Linked DNA regions of Homo sapiens: region 2 is linked to region 1. The links are contacts of gene promoters, found by promoter capture Hi-C in blood cells and fetal thymus (Javierre and others, 2016). All regions are on one chromosome and are shown on one strand. Each heading gives the region's core, a stretch centred on a gene start or on the middle of the fragment in contact. The rest is flanking DNA. Distances are from core to core; before and after follow the strand shown.

Region 1 (5,482 bases), core at 2,828-5,327:
ACATGGTTATTTCATATAACACAAGTCTGTTTTTACTCGTAATAAGCGGTTACTACATATACCCAACGGGCCTCCTTTTAACATGCTTTCACAGCATGGATCCCAATGATGGCATTATAATCACACTGTATTGTAAAATCCGGAATTTAACAATAGCATACCTTATATTTGTAAAGCACTCAACAAGTTACAAAGCACCTTCTTACACATTATCTCACTTGATCCCCACAACATCCCTGTAAGAAGAGGCAGGGATTAGAATCTCCATTTTGCAGATGAGGAAACAAAGTGAGGTTAAATATCTTGCTATAAGCAAAAGGGCGATCATGGCTCTTCTGTACTATAATCCAGCATTTTCCCCACACTTTCACTACCTCTCCACTCTATAGTATCTTCATTTTAGGCAACAACCTCATTTCTCCTTGTAACATTCTTGTTTATAAATGGAGAAACTGAAGCAAAAGGCTGTTAAGTTAAATGCTCAAGACCTAAGTGCTAGTCAATAGCAGAGGCAGGAACAGAAACTCAACTCATAGTGCTCATTCAGCTCAAAAATTCTTAGAGGGCAAGGATTAATTCTTTTCACAAATATTTATCAAGTGCTTATTCTGGATTAGACACCATGTGAGGTGAAAAATAGAGATGGCTGCTGCCTGAAGAAGCCTTCCATCTAATGAGGGAGGAAGAGAATAGCCAAGCAAGCAAACAATTTTAGATGGCGATACCTTCCAAGGAAACAAGCAGGGTACAGCAGCAATAGGATAAGGAGGCAGAGGAGCATATATTTACACAGGTGGTTTGGGAAGGCCTCTCTGAGTAGGTGACTTTTAAATGGAAATCTAAAGGCTGAAAAAGAGGCAGCCCTGATAAGAGTCAGAAGACAATTCTACTGAGCGAATAGTTGTTTAAAAAACAATCTGTAACTAGTCCAGTTTCACATCTGGGGTATTGAATAAGAGCTTTTGGATAATGTCTTCCAATCCTTACCTTCCTATTGTTTCCAAGTTGAAAAGGGCTCCATTTCTGTAGCCAAAGCCCCACATTTTTTTGTTTGTTTATTTTTTAAAGACAGAGTCTCACTCTGTCACCAGGCTGTAGTGCAGTCGTGTGATCTTGGCTTACTGCAACCTCTGCCTCCCAGGCTCAAGCAATCCTCCCACCTCAGCCTCCTGAGTAGCTGGGACTACAGACGTGTGCCACCATACCCAGCTAATTTTTGTGTTTTTTTGTAGTGACAGGGTTTCACCATGTTGCCCAGGTTGGTCTCATACTCTTGGGCTCAAGCCATCTGCCCGCCTTGGCCTCCCAAAGTGCTGAGATTACAGGCCTGAGCCACTGAGCCCGGCCAAAAGCCCCACATTTTAAAGACACATTCATTGAGACCTGGAAGAGTGGTCTTTTCGTAATATTGCCCAATTTTATGGTGTGAGGAATTGGACTACAGTATCAACAAAGACTTGAAATCTGAGAATCCTCCCCACCACCTTCTGAAATCTGAACCCCCCTCAGTAACTTTTCCCTATCTTAAAACTAATTGTTAAGGTAGTAACTTACATTTAGGACCCTCAAACTCATTCGCCTCATCTACCTTTACAAAGCACGTGTTTATGCTGTGTGAACAATGCCAGAATACCACAACTGGACTGCGTTTATGTAGCGAGTTCTTTATTAGCTTTTGTATAGCCAGACACCCGCAAAGGATGCTAAATGTATCCAAATGGATCCAGATGATGAGGTACCAATTCAAATTTATTTAGATCAAGAGCAGAGTTGTTTCTCTGGCAGAGGGAGCCTATGCCATTCCAATTCCTGGAGTTACCCCTGACACCTCCTTTCCTTCCTCTGCTCCTTTCTAAAGCAATCTGATGGTATGCAGACAATCAGGTCAGTTTCAAGCATGTTAGATTGTGCCTGTAATTTACGCAAATTGCTTTGAAAAGCCACCATTAGTTTCAGCAGAAAGGAAGTATTATCTAGCTCAACTTTTGAGAAGCAGCAGTCAAGAGGTATTTTCACACAAAAACTCAAGCATAATTAAATCTTATAAAGAGTGACCAGTATATATTGTGAACTGCAAGTAGGAAAACCGATGATTGAAACAACAGTTTTACCCGTCAAAAATATCAATAATTCAGGCATTTCATAACAGCCATAAAAAAATTAAACAGATTTGCTTTCCAACCCTTATCAATGACTGCTCCAATCCTGCTGAGCCTTAAAAGGTAAAACATGCTTTCATGCAATTATTTATCAACATCAACTATGTGCAAGGCTGCATAAGATAGAAGCTATACAAGGCAGAGTGCCTACCCTTAAGGAGTTTACAATCTAATATATCTGTCAGGTTATAAATCGTTAGTCTAAGACCTCTATCACTTATTATCGAGTGTCCCCTGGAACACACAGGTGAAAATAAACTTCTGCTTGAAGCAAAGGGAATGACAAATAGTTTCTGAAGTCCATGCTAAATCCTTTGTTATTTTTCTTCAAACTTGCTAATATCTGGAAAAGAACTTGCTTGATAACATATTGGTAACCAATTATAGCCAGCATGTTAGCAAGAAACCAGCTTCTTTTATTTTGGTCTTTGCAAAATTTGATCATTTGCTGATACCTAGCCTGTCTTTGGTCTCTGTTCAAATAAAATTTCACTTAAAACTGTATATTGTAATTACAGAAATATAAGAAAAGAAATGCAGTTAAAAAAATAGGTACGGTGAACTTGGGATGTTCAGTCTCAACAAATGTGTGTACCCACTGCATTCTTACACATTTATAAAAGGTTGAACATTTGTTCTGGAAGGGAAAAAAAGGGCATTTTAACCTCACCTTTCTTCACCCCTGACAGTTGCCTAGAAACCAGTCTTGCCCTACCTGTGTTGCAGGTGTACCTCAAGTCACCGACACATCTCTTTTAAAGCTACAGTCTCCATTCTGACTTAAGTTTATGACTAACCATCTATTCATATTTTTATCAGGTAAGAGACTGGTTTCTTTCAAGCAATGATGAAATCCTAATAAAGACTTAGCAAGCACTAATACAGCACCATTCACGGTTAAAGAGTCATCTAATTTGTACAGGGCTATGATATACATATAAATACACACACAAAATTCCCAATAAGCATTCACGTCTTGAACACATAATTTTGCAGTCCGATTCCATTCAAAGCCGTACTTAAGACACTCAGAGCAAAGAATCACGTTTCTAGGAGAGAAGGAAGAGTTCAGAACAGCTTAGACGAATTTTTAAATACTGATTTCGGCATTACCATCGTCGCTGTGAGATTAGGCAGAGGGAGCGGGGCTGACCGCCAGAGAACCGGTACCAACCACCGCAAGCAATCGCCGAGCCTCCCACCCCAGCTTTCAAGACAGGATTTACGGGTACACGGTGTGAACAAGACAACGCAACCCCCTTTTTACAAATAAAAAAAAAATCAAACAAGCCCCCAGGCCCGAAGACGCTCATCCCCGCCGGGCAACCCCGCGAGCGCAGGCTGCGGGACGAGGACCTTCATGCTCGCCGCTCCCGAACCCCCGTCCGCTCCTGCGGTCCCGGTGCTGCGGGGACGTATCCCGGGCGCTCGGGTGCATGGCCCCGGCCAGCCGAGGGGCCGCGCGACGACCACAGCCGGCGTGGAGAAGGCGGCGGGCGCCGGCACTTCGCGGCGTCCCCAGGCCCGGGCTGCGCCGCCGGGGAGGGTCCCGCTCTCCACACCTCAATGGGGAGAAGCCCGCGAGCGACCGGCCGGCCTCTCCCTCCATCCCAGAGACTCCGCGTCGCGGCGACCCTCCCCGCGCCCTCCACGCCCCCGCCCTCGCGTCGGGGAGCCGCCTGGATCCCGGCGCCCGGCGCGGGGCCCCCTGAGGGAACGGAGCGCTGCGTGGCCCTCCCCACCCCCTCAGCGCGCCAGGCCCCTTACCCCGGAGGAGCGGCGGCTGCCCCGCGGCGCCCTCCCGCGCATGTCCGTCCCGGCTGGCTCAGCGCCGCGGGCTCAGGGGCCCGGACATCGCGCAGGCGCCTCTTGCTGGCTCGCGCTCCCGCTAGCACTCTGCCTCGCACCGGACCGCCGTCGCCGCGGCTGCCGCCGCCGCCTCTATATATAGCATAGGCCGCCGGGCCGTGAGGTCGCCGCGTCCCGCCCCGCCTCCTCCCGCAGCCAATCAGGGCGCGCGCCGCTTAAAGGGGCGATGCCGTGGCCGAGGCGTTGCGCCGGGCCCACCGTGGCGTATCGCGGCGCTGCAGGGAGCCGGCTTTGTCTCCCGGAGAGGCGTCTCCGGGCTGACCGCGGCCGCAGCTCCGCTCCTCTGCCTGAGCCGTGCGGCAGCCCTGGGAGCCTCTCAACGCCGAGCTTTCCTCAGAAGCCCGCGGCGACCCGGGCCTCGGCCGCTGTTCCTGCCCGAACTGAGGGCACATCGCGCTTCGCGCGGGATTTCCCATAAATTCAGGCTCCGGGCAAGATTGTGTGTTTTTTCCTCTCCGCGGGCCGCCGCTGGCCGTGTGGGCCGAAGAAGCCCTGGAGGGGGAGAGGGGAGCCGCTCTCGACTGGGCTTGCGGCGTGGGAGGGACAGTGAGGGACACTTAGGGACTGTGTGGGGCAGTGAAGGATAGTGTGGGATGATGAGGGACCGTGTGGACCGGTGAGCGACTGTGTGGGACAGTGCGGGACGATGAGAGACGGTGTGGGACGGTGAGGGACAGTGCGGGACGATGAGGGACAGTGAGGGACTGTGTAGGACAGTGAGGGACAGTGTGGGACGGTGAGGGACTGTGGGACAGTGAGGGACTTTGGGACTGTGAGGGACTCGGACAGTGAAGGATGGCAAGGGACAGTGTGGGACAGTATGGGACAGTGGACAGTGAGGCACTGTGAGGGGCGGTGAGGGACAATGAAGGATGTCAAGGGACAGTGTGGGACAGTGGACGGTGAGGTACTGTGAGGGGCGGTGAGGGACAGTGTGGGACTGTGAGGGATGGCGAGGGACAGAGTAGGACAGCAAGGGAGGATGAGGGGACAGAGTGGGCCGGCGTGGGGCGGTGAGGCTACGCGGGGGGAACCCAGGGCTCCTCTGACTGCGTTGGAATATGGAGGAAAGGTCCTGCTCGAGGTTGAGCCCTTCAGGGTCGCTGTGGGTTTCCAGGAGGAGCTCCCTCACTACTGACTTAGGGGGCCCTCGGCTTCCCAGGTTTGTGTTTACTCAGGCGACCTGAGCTGGCCCCGACGTCTTTTGGCTTTGGAGAGGCCACGGATGCCCAAGGACAAAGCCCCAGCGGGCCTGTGGGAGGAGGTTTCTCGGGGCGCCAGTGATGCAACTTAGGCTTATAGTTTAACCGTAAAATAAATAATACAAATGATAACAAACCAAGAGTGACTAAAGTCAGAAAAAAAGCAAACAGACGGAAACCCTCTAGTTTTAACTAGAACAAATTCCCTGGCTGGTCCTCTGTTGGGAGAGCCCAGAGACCTGTCGCTGACCT
Region 2 (5,093 bases), core at 1,809-4,308, 710 kb after region 1:
GTAGATAAAAACGATGGCATCCTTTGGGGCATAAAGTGAAGGTAAGATTTCCACAGGCTCTGAAACAGCAGCTAGCAACTAGGGCCAAGAGACTGCACCTGTTTTTGAAAATAAACTTTTATAGCCAGGCGCAGTGGCTCATGCCTGTAATCCCAGCACTTTGGGAGGCCGAGGCAGGTGATCATCCGAGGTCGGGAGTTCAAGACCAGCCTGACCAACATGGAGAAACCCTGTCTCTACTAAAAATACAAAATTAGCTGGGCATGGTGGCGCAAGCCTGTAATCCTAGCTACTCAGGAGGCTGAGGCAGAGAATCGTTTGAACCCGGGAGGTGGAAGCTGCGGTGAGCTGAGATCGTGCCACACCATTGCACTCCAGCCTGGGCAACAAGAGTGAGACTCCATCTCAATCAATCAATCAATCAATCAAGTTTTATTAGAAGTCAGCTACACCGATTTTTTTTTTTTTTTTTTTTTATTGAGATGGAGTCTCGCTCTGTTGCCCAGGCTGGAGTGCAGTGGCACAATCTCAGCTCACCACAACCTCTGCCTCCCTGGTTTCAAGTGATTCTCCTGCCTCAGCCTCCCAAGTAGCTGGGACTACAGGCACGTGCCACCATGCCTGGCTAATTTTTGTATTTTTAGTAGAGACGGGGTTTCACCACGTTGGCCAGGCTGGTTTCGAACTCTTGACCTTGTGATCCACCCGCCTCGGCCTCCCAAAGTGCTGGGGTTACAGGCATGAGCCACTGCACCTGGCCTTATTTTTTTATGTGTATTTTCTATGGTTGTTTGTCTTCCCACTACAATGGCAGAGTTCCATACTTGAAACAGAGACCATACAACCTGAAAAGACTAAATATTTACTATATCTGGCCCTTTACAGAAAAAGACTGCCAACAGCAAACATCTCCAGCCTTCTCCAGATCACAACTTAAGAGGAATGTCATGTGCATGAGGCTAAGGAGTGTGGGCTGGCTTGAGATGGAAAAGGGGATTATGACTGCTATCCACCCTATACTACATATTAAGAAAATGAAATTATGGGAACTCATGGGAAGAAAGAATGACAGATGCAGCTGATTCCTCCCATATGATGGTTCACATCAGGCTTTTCCAAAGACTGAATGAAGAGCTCTAAGGTTTTCTTTCAGGTATTTAAAAAATCTTATGTAAGGGATGGCAGGGGAAAATAAAATTTTCTATATAACATACTATTTCACTCACATCAATGTTACACTGAAGCTCACACCTGAGATAGGCTGATATTTCTTTCAAAGAGAAGATTTCAAGTAAGCTTCCAAATAGCTATGATAATGTGTATGAATAGAACCAGATCCCAGAATGAACTTGAGGTAAATACCAAGGACTGAAATCAGTGAACCATCAAAACAAATATACTTGTCAAACATACAATACACAAGATGAAATATAATGAATCCCTTTGAAGGTCACTATATGTAGATACAAAAATACAGCTTGAAGATGATCTAGTCAAGAGACCCAGGTTCTAGTCCGGGTTTTGACTCTCCCTGTAACTTAGAAAAGTAATTTCCCCCATTTGTTTTTGGGGTTTTTTTTGTTTTTGTTTTTGTTTTTGAGACAGAGTCTCGCTCTGTTGCCCAGGCTGGAGTGCAGTGGCGCGATCTCGGCTCACCGCGAGCTCCGCCTCCCGGGTTCACCCCATTCTCCTACCTCAGCCTCCCAAGTAGCTGGGATTACAGGCATGCGTCCCCACACCCAGCTAATTTTTGTATTTTTAGTAGAGACAGGGTTTCACCATGTTGGTCAGGCTGGTCTTGAACTCCTGACCTCAGGTGATCCACCTGCCTCAGCCTCCCAAAGTGTTGGGATTACAGGCATGAGCCACTACGCCCAGTCTGGTTTTGTTTTTTGAGACAGAGTCTTGTTCTGTCACCCAGGCTGGTGTACAGTGGTGCAATCACAGCTCACTGCACCATCTACCTCCCAGGCTCCCAAAGGGCTAAGATTACAGGTGTGAGCCACAGTGACCAGCCAGTTTCCCCTTTGTACTTTATCTGTGAACTGAAGGACTAACGCTGCATGAGTGGTTCTCAACCATTCACATGCCTCAGAATCACCTGGAGGGATTTGTTAAAGCAAGGGGTGTTGGGTGCCAGGCTTCATTTTCAGTTCAGAAGTCATCATTCCCATCCTCACAGCAAGAAAACAGCTAAACAAACTGAAATCAATGGCCTTTCTTAGATCCATTAGAGAACTGGGGTCACAGAGCAAACAGCTACCACAAAATTTGAAGGAAAAAAATCACAAGAAAATACAGAGAATCACAGAAAAGATCAGATTACCAGAAGCAAAAGCTACATGAACCAGTAAGCAATACAGTAATCAATACCTGAACGGTAATTTTGACGAACTGCAGAAGACTGAGTGTGGACTAGCTTGAGAGTTAAAACTTCTGGAGGTCCAGACTTAAGAGGGACCTATATAGCTTTTACCTCCAGGAGCCTGAACAGGTTCTTACAAGAACATCAAAGAAAAAAATCCCCTCGTATTTTAGGCAGGGAGAGGGGAAAGTAACCATTTTGCAATTGCTCAGAGCATTCTCCATAACAAAGGCCCACCTGCTAAGAAAAACTACTTCGCAGGAGCTTTGTAGACCTGGGGAAAGGACAATTACTCAACTCCCTCTTGCCTTCTCACAGAAGGGGTGAGGGGAGGAAAGCTAATAAACTCTTCGGAAGATCACAGCCTAAAGACTTACGCCCACTAAAAAACTGAGATTTAATATTAGATTACAGAATGCACTCCTTCCCCAACACCTTTCCACCACATCAACAGAGCTCCAGTATAAAAAAAAAAATGCATTACAACTGACAGAGCTTCAAGACAGACTCTATTTAAGAAGGAGTTCTTAGGGAAACCCAAAGAAACCAGGGGTGGAAAAAAACAAGAAAACTACAGGAAACGGAAGCATCTAACCCACAGCAAACATGAAGCACAGTATGGCATTTTCTGAAAAAGCTAAACATAATGTTTTTTTGTTTGTTTGTTTGTTTGTTTGTTTTGTTTTGTTTTTTTGAGAAGAGTCTTGCGCTGTCACCCAGGCTGGAGTGCAATGGCACGATCTCGACTCACTGCAAGCTCTGCCTCCTGGTTTCATGCCATTCTCCTGCCTCAGCCTCCCCAGCAGCTGGGACTACAGGCACACACTGCCACGCCCGGCTAATTTTTTTGTATTTTTAGTAGAGACGGGGTTTCACTGTGTTAGCCAGGATGGTCTCGATCTCCTGACCTCGTGATCTGCCCACCTCAGCCTCCCAAAGTGCTGGGATTATAGGCATGAGCCACCACGCCCAGCCTGAAAAAGCTAAACATAATCTTACCATACAATCCCACAATCGTGCCCCTAAGCATTTGTCCAACTGACTTAAAAACTTATGTCCATACAAAAATCTGCACAAATTTTAGAGTAGTTTTATTCATAATCAGAGACAGAAGGCAACCAAGGTGTCCTTCAACCGTACTTCATGAATAGATATGCGAACTGTGGTGTTCACTGAGCAATAAAAAGAAATGAGCTCTAAAGAACAAGAAAGAGGAACATTAAACACATATTGTTAAGTGAAAGAAGCCAATCTGAAAGTATACACACTATATGATTCCAACCATAGAACTTTCTTTAAAAGGAACTTCAACTTTCTTTAAAAGACAAAACTATAGAGATAGTAAAAGGACCAGTGGTTGCCAGGGGCTGGGCAAAGAAGGGAGAGATGATTACATGGAGCACAGAAGTTTTAATGGTGGTGAAACTATTCTGCAGGATACTGTAACTGTGGATAAGCACATGACATTTACGTTTCTGTCAAACCCCACAGAATGTACAACACAAAGAGTGAATCTTAAACTGTAGACTTCAGTTAATAATATATTAATACTGCTTCATCAGTTGTAACAGATAAGCCACACTCATGCAAGATGTTAATAATAGGGGGAACTCTGTGTGTGTGTCTGTATATGTGTGTGTGTGGGAACTACTTATACTATCTGCCCAATTTTCAATTTTTCTTTTTTTTTTTTTTTTTTTTTTTTTTTGGTTTAGATGGAGTCTTGCTCTGTCACCCAGGCTGGAGTGCAGTGGCGCTATCTCAGCTCACTGCAAGCTCCGCCTCCCGGGTTCACGCCATTCTCCTGCCTCAGCCTCCCGAGTAGCTGGGACTACAGGCGCCCGCCACTACGCCCGGCTAATTTTTTGTATTTTTAGTAGAGACGGGGTTTCACCGTGTTAGCCAGGATGGTCTCAATCTCCTGACCTCGTGATCCGCCCACCTCTGCCTCCCAAAGTGCTGGGATTACAGGCGTGAGCCACCACGCCCAGCCCGATTTTTCTATAAATCTAAAAGTGTTCTAAAGTATAAAGTTTATTTAAAAAAAAAGAGAGAGAGAGAGAGTGAGTGTTGGGAGTCACTCCTCGATCCTAATTCAGTAAGTCTTGGGACAGGCCCAATAATTTACATTTTAACCAAATTCACAAGTGCTGCTGCTGGTTCAAGAGCCACATCTTGAAACCACTGGGCTACGGCTCCTTTTAGTTCTAAATTTTATTATTCTATTCACTAACATTTTCATGAGAACTGTGGTAACCAGCCCACAAAATGGCCCCCAGTGAGCTCTGCCTCCTGGTATTCAAACTCTTGACAATAATGTCTTCCAAGGCTACGTCATAAAAGACATTGCAGCTTTCACCTTGCTCTTATATGAATCCTTTCTTCTGGAAAGCCAGGTGCAGTATCATGAAGAAACTCAGGCAGCCCTATGAAGAGGTTCCATGTGCAAGGAACTGAAGCTTCTGCCAACAGCCAGCAAGAACTCTGCCAACCTTGTGAATGCACTATGTTGCAATTGGATCCTCCAGGCCCTATCAAGCCTTCAGTTGACTGCAACCTGAGAAGGGACCTCAAGCCACTCCTAAATTCCTGACCCACAAAAGGTGTGTGGGATAACAAATGCTGAATGTTGTTTTAAGCAGCAGTTTGGAGGTATTTTGTTACATATATCATATAGGAGCTTAATCTAAAATATGTATGTGGCTGGGCACGGTGGCTCACGCCTATA

Evidence for each region. The method cuts DNA at HindIII sites, captures the fragments that hold promoters and counts their contacts. A CHiCAGO score of 5 or more calls a contact.
Region 2: a fragment that was not itself captured here is called in contact with the fragment with the promoter of ERRFI1 in region 1 in 1 of 17 cell types (total CD4 T cells); the score reaches 7.1 in total CD4 T cells.

The regions. Positions count from the first base shown.
Region 1 is chr1:8,022,232-8,027,713 of GRCh38, forward strand. It overlaps ERRFI1 (ERBB receptor feedback inhibitor 1), which reads right to left and starts at 4,078. Exons shown (of 4, transcript NM_018948.4): 1 at 3,927-4,078. It overlaps ERRFI1-DT (ERRFI1 divergent transcript), which reads left to right and starts at 4,262. Exons shown (of 3, transcript NR_185980.1): 1 at 4,262-5,190. RefSeq lists silencers at 3,894-3,993, 4,114-4,163. The HindIII fragment of the contact is 13,168 bases long and covers 1-5,482 here.
Region 2 is chr1:8,728,763-8,733,855 of GRCh38, forward strand. The region is part of intron 1 of RERE (arginine-glutamic acid dipeptide repeats); the gene reads right to left. Among named protein-coding and RNA genes, the nearest start is that of RERE, 86 kb to the right of the region's middle. RefSeq lists an enhancer at 1,650-2,149 and a silencer at 3,132-3,301. The HindIII fragment of the contact is 3,528 bases long and covers 1,295-4,822 here.